Regions from separate parts of the Homo sapiens genome. Here region 2 is linked to region 1. Evidence: promoter capture Hi-C in 16 types of primary human blood cells and fetal thymus (Javierre and others, 2016). All regions are on one chromosome and are shown on one strand. The core of a region is centred on a gene start or on the middle of the fragment in contact, and the rest is flanking DNA. Distances in the headings are between cores, read along the strand shown. Region 1 holds the start of FAM89B (family with sequence similarity 89 member B). Region 2 overlaps SNX32 (sorting nexin 32).

What was found. Contacts are between HindIII fragments. The CHiCAGO score rates a contact against its expected background, and 5 or more counts as called.
Region 2: a contact is called between a fragment that was not itself captured here and the fragment with the promoter of FAM89B in region 1, in 1 of 17 cell types (neutrophils). The highest score is 5.8, in neutrophils.

The regions. Positions count from the first base shown.
Region 1 is chr11:65,571,288-65,573,987 of GRCh38, forward strand. It overlaps FAM89B (family with sequence similarity 89 member B), which reads left to right and starts at 1,251. Exons shown (of 2, transcript NM_001098785.2): 1 at 1,251-1,673; 2 at 2,076-2,700. The coding sequence starts at 1,383. The coding sequence ends at 2,354. ZNRD2 (zinc ribbon domain containing 2) reads left to right here. Exons shown (of 4, transcript NM_006396.3): 4 at 104-601. The coding sequence ends at 447. RefSeq lists a silencer at 1,122-1,571. The HindIII fragment of the contact is 12,518 bases long and covers 1-2,700 here.
Region 2 is chr11:65,842,906-65,845,605 of GRCh38, forward strand. All of the region lies in intron 1 of SNX32 (sorting nexin 32), which reads left to right. Among named protein-coding and RNA genes, the nearest start is that of SNX32, 10 kb to the left of the region's middle. The HindIII fragment of the contact is 8,144 bases long and covers 1-2,700 here.

The DNA.
Region 1 (2,700 bases), core at 1-2,500:
AAAACACCTCAAGCACAGAAAGAGCAGAGCAGAAAAGGAGATGGCTCAGGGCTGAGGTGGGCCAGGCATCCTGACCATTCCACCCACTTTCTCCTCTTTTTAGCTCTGAATGCCCAGGCTGCCCTCTCCCAAGCTCGGGAGCACCAGCTGGCCTCAGCCTCAGAGCTCCCCCTGGGCTCTCGACCTGCGCCCCAGCCCCCAGTACCTCGTCCGGAGCACTGTGAGGGAGCTGCAGCAGGACTCAAGGCAGCCCAGGGGCCACCTGCTCCTGCTGTGCCTCCAAATACAGATGTCATGGCCTGCACACAGACAGCCCTCTTGCAGAAGCTGACCTGGGCCTCTGCTGAACTGGGCTCTAGCACCTCCCTGGAGACTAGCATCCAGCTGTGTGGCCTTATCCGCGCATGTGCGGAGGCCCTGCGCAGCCTGCAGCAGCTACAGCACTAAGAGAAGCCCCTGAGAAAAACCCTCTAGAAAAACAGCTGTTCCTCTGTGTGGTTTGTTTTTTTCCTGGTTCCAAGTGTGCATGCCAGCCCCAGCTCCACTCACCTTTTTCCAGCTTTTGGCCTCTTCACCTCTCCACTCTGCTCTCCTTGACGCCCTGAGATGAGTTGAGCTTGTTTCTTCTCAGTTTCCCCAGTCAGGATGAGGGAGTAGGTAGAGGACTATGTGATGCCCCTTTTCTAAGGAAGAAGCCATAGCCTTTTCAAAGGTAGCAGCCAGAGGGGTGGACCCTAGCCTTGTCTCTGGCAGCACCTCTGCAGCCTCTTCCGCCATCTGGTGTCCATTCCCCACCTGGAAGTGAGGTTTTGTGTTCCGATCCCCTTGATAGATTCCCCTCCTTCCCCTGAGCATCCTGACCCTATCAGCCTATCCCATCTCATGCCCACCCCAGGTACTCAGACACCGACAGGAGTTTGTGGTGACCCCAGCGTCAGGTGGCACGTTAGGCACCAAGTGTGGACTTGCCAGTCTCCTGACTCCACTGTTAGATCATTTTCCTTGGGTGTGGGGGCGGGGCGGGGCGCGGCGGGGAGACGGGGTAGCAAAAAGAACCGTGAAGAAACCACGCCTGCCCCCTTCAGCCTTTTCCCCCCTCCGCCGCATTTTTCCATCTCCCCTTGAGTGAGTGGATGTCCCGTTGCCTTTTCTCAGCTTTGCGCGACGTGGTCCCACAACCGTTGCCTTTTTAAGAGAGGCCCGGCCCATCCAGAGGGGGTGGGGCAGAGGCGGAGTCTGAGGAGCTGGGGAAGGAACAAAGCGAGGCCTGCGGGCGGCGGCTGGGCTCCGGCGGGGCCGCGGGGTGCGGGGCCTGCGGGCGGCGGCCCGGGCGGAGCGTTGGAGGGAAGGAGGTGGCATCGCCGTCCGCGCCGGCCCCGGCCATGAACGGGCTGCCCTCGGCAGAGGCGCCGGGCGGGGCGGGCTGCGCTTTGGCCGGGCTCCCACCGCTGCCGCGCGGCCTCAGCGGCCTCCTTAATGCGAGCGGGGGCTCGTGGCGGGAGCTGGAGCGCGTCTACAGCCAGCGCAGCCGCATCCACGACGAGCTGAGCCGCGCCGCCCGCGCCCCGGACGGGCCCCGCCACGCCGCCGGCGCCGCCAACGCGGGACCCGCAGCCGGCCCGCGTCGTCCTGTCAACCTCGACTCAGCGCTGGCCGCGCTGCGCAAGGAGATGGTGAGTGGGTGGGCGCCGGGCCAGCTGGGCGGGGGGCTGACGCGGAGGAACGCAGGGGACTGGGACAGGCGGCCTGGGTCTCAGAGGACTTGCAGGCACCAGTTGGGTTGCAAGGGTTATGGTAACAATAATTAGTGATAGTTACCAATTATGGCAGTAGTTACCATATATTTTCAAATGTTTTGCTGACGTTACTTCATTTCATCCGGCTAAATGGATAACCCCATTTTTTGGGTGAGGGTCATGACTAAAGTTGCATAGCTTGCAGGTGGTGCCTGATGTCCACAAAAACTTCGTTTAGGAAGGTGCGGGGAAGATGGGCTGGGGCCCACTATTCCAGGGGGCGGGGCTGGGCTGGGGTGGCCTGGACCCCAACTCCAGCCCACCCTCAGTTGTCTGCAGGTGGGGCTGCGGCAGTTGGACATGTCCTTGTTGTGCCAGCTGTGGGGCCTGTACGAGTCAATCCAGGACTACAAACACCTGTGCCAAGACCTGAGCTTCTGCCAGGACCTGTCATCCTCCCTCCATTCGGACAGCTCCTACCCACCGGATGCGGGCCTGTCTGACGACGAGGAGCCTCCCGATGCCAGCCTGCCTCCTGACCCGCCACCCCTTACTGTGCCCCAGACGCACAATGCCCGTGACCAGTGGCTGCAGGATGCCTTCCACATCAGCCTCTGAAGGGCTGGGGGGCAGGGGGCATGCACCCATGCAAAAGGCTCAGAAACTCCCCCTCCGGCAAGCCCTCAGACTTCGGAGCCTGCGCCTTCCCCCCTACCGCCTCACCTCACAGGAGGGCCAGGCATGTATTCCTCAGAGGCGAAACTGCCAAACTCTTTCTCCTGTCTTGGGTTGGCTGGCACTGGGGCGGGCATCTAGGGTACAGCCTCTGCTCATGGCACTGGGCCTCCAGTTCTTCCACATGTGTGCACCCCCAGCTTGGCCAACCCTCAGCCTTGCGGTGGGGCCCGAAGCATCTTCCCTTCCGCTTGGCGTCTCTGGGATTGGGATGAGTGCCTGGCTCCCA
Region 2 (2,700 bases), core at 196-2,695, 270 kb after region 1:
GCCATTGCACTCCAGCCTGAGCAACAAGAGCGAAACTCCATCTCAAAAAAAAAAAAAAAAAAAAAAAGAAACACTTTGGGAGGCCGAGACCGGGGGATCATGAGGTCAGGAGATCGAGACCATCCTGGCTAACATGGTGAAACCCCGTCTCTACTAAAAATACAAAAAATTAGCTGGGCGTGGTGGGCACCTGTAGTCCCAGCTACTAGGGAGGCTGAGGCAGGAGAATGGCTTGAACCCAGGAGGTGGAGCTTGCAGTGAGCCGAGATTGCGCCAGTGCACTCCAGCCTGGGCGACAGAGCAAGACTCCGTCTCAAAAAAAAAAAAAAAAGAAAAAGAAATTAAAATTAAAATGAAGAAAATGAATTGAAAATAGATCATAGCCAGGTAGGGTGGCTCATGCCTGTAATCCCAGCACTTTGGGAGGCCAAGGAGGGTAGATCACTTGAGGTCAGGAGTTTGAGACCAGCCTGGCCAAAAGAGTGAAACCCCATCTCTACTAAAAATACAGAAATTAGCCAGGCGTTGTGGCGGGCACCTGTAATTGCAGCTACTCAGGAGGCTGAGGCAGGAGAATCACGAACCTGGGAGGCGGAGGTTGCAATGAGCCAAGATCGTGCCACTGCACACCAGCCTGGGCAACAGAGCAAGACTCTGTCTCAAAAGAAAAAGAAAAAGAAAAAGAAAATGGATTATAGATACAACTGCAAGAGCTTAAACTGTAACACCTCTAGAAAAATAAATAGAATATCTTCATGACCTTGGGGTAGGCAAAGTTTTCTTTAACAGGACACAAAAAGCCTTAACCATAGACATAAAAGACTGTTATGTTGAGCTTGTAACATTTGAACCATTAAGAGTCAAAGGCAAACTATAGACTAGGAAAAGATACTGACAAAAGGTATAATCAACAATGGGTTTGTCTCCAGCAACAGTTCCTACAAATTACTGAAAAACAGATAATCTGATCTTTCAAAGAGGTGGCAGGAAAGAATCAGAGACCTGAATAGGCACTTTACAAAAGAAGATATGCAGATGGCTGATAAATACAGAAAATGCCGCTCAACATCATTCCTCACCAGGTAATACCAGTTACACTCCCCATGCGCAATTACCATGCCTGGACTAACAGGGTGAAAGTAAAAAAGACTAACAATTCTGAGCTGTCACAGTGGTTTGTGCCCAGACTGATCTATATATTCGATGCAATCACAATCAAAATCCCAGTATGTTTTTCAGGGGTAGAAATGTAAAGGACCTATAATCACCCAAATGATTCTGAAAAAAAAGAATAAAGGTGGAGGCCTTGCACTATCTGATTTCCAGTCTCACCTGTTAGATTACAGTAATCAGTCCAGTGAGATATTATCATAAGGACAAACATAGACCAATGGAACAGAGAGTCCAAAGTTTATCATACTTAATAGGTCAATTGATACGTGTACACAAAAGCAGCTCTCAGCTACTCCAGAGGATTGCCTGAGCCCAGTTCAAGGCCAGCCTGGACAACATTAGCAGGACCCCTTTTCTTTAAAAAAAAAAAAATAATAAATAGAGAGAGAGAGAGATAAAATGACTAACGACTCTGTGGCAAAGATGTAGTACAACTGGAACTTTCATACACAGTGCTGCTGGGAGTGTACATTGGTTTAGTCACCTTAGAAAACCGTTTGGCAGTATTTACTAAAGTGTTTTAAACATACAATATGTCTTCCCTGTAACTAAGCAATTCTCATGCCCAACAGAAATGGGGACTTAGGTCAAAAGTCCTCAAAAGACGGCTGGGCGTGGTGGCTCACATCTGTAATCCTAGCACTTTGGGAGGCCGAAGCGGGCAGATCACTTGAGGTCAGGAGTTCAAGAGCAGCCTGGCCAACATGGCGAAACCCCATCTCTACTAAATTACAAAAATTAGCCAGGCGTGGTGGCGGGCACCTGTATCCCCAGCTACTCAGGAGGCTGAGGCAGGAGAATCACTTGAACCTGGGAGGCGGAGGTTGCTGTGAGCTAAGATCACGTCACTGCACTCCAGCCTGGGTGACACAGCAAGACTCTGTCTCAAAAAAAAAAAAAAAAGTCTTCTAAAGACCTGTGTAAGAATGTTCATGGAAGCCAGACATGGTGCTGCACACTTGTAATCCCAGCTACTTGGGAGGCTGAAGTGGAAGGATGGCTTGAGGCCAGGAGTTCAACCAGCCTGGGCAGCATAGCGAGAACACCCCCCTGCTTTAAAAAAAAAAAAAAAAAAAAAAGGCTGGGTGTGGTGGCTCACTCCTGTAATTCCAGCACTTTGGGAGGCCGAGGCGGGCGGATCATGAGGTCTGGAGATCGAGACCATCCTGGCTAACACAGTGAAACCCCGTCTCTACTAAAAAATACAAAATTAGCTGGGCGTGGTGGTGTATGACTGTAATCCCAGCTACTAGGGAGGCTGAGGCAGGAGAATGGCATGAACCCGGGAGGCGGAGGTTGCAGTGAGCTGAGATCGTGCCACTGCACTCCAGCCTGGGCAACAGAGCAAGACTCCATCTCAAAAAAAAAAAAAAAGTAACCGGTTGCAGTGGCTCACGCCTGTAATCCCAACATTTTGGAAGGCCAAGGTGGGCGGATCACCTGAGGTCAGGAGTTTGAGACCAACCTGGCCAACATAATGAAACCCCGTTTCTACTAAAAATGCAAAAAATTAGCCAGGCATGCTGG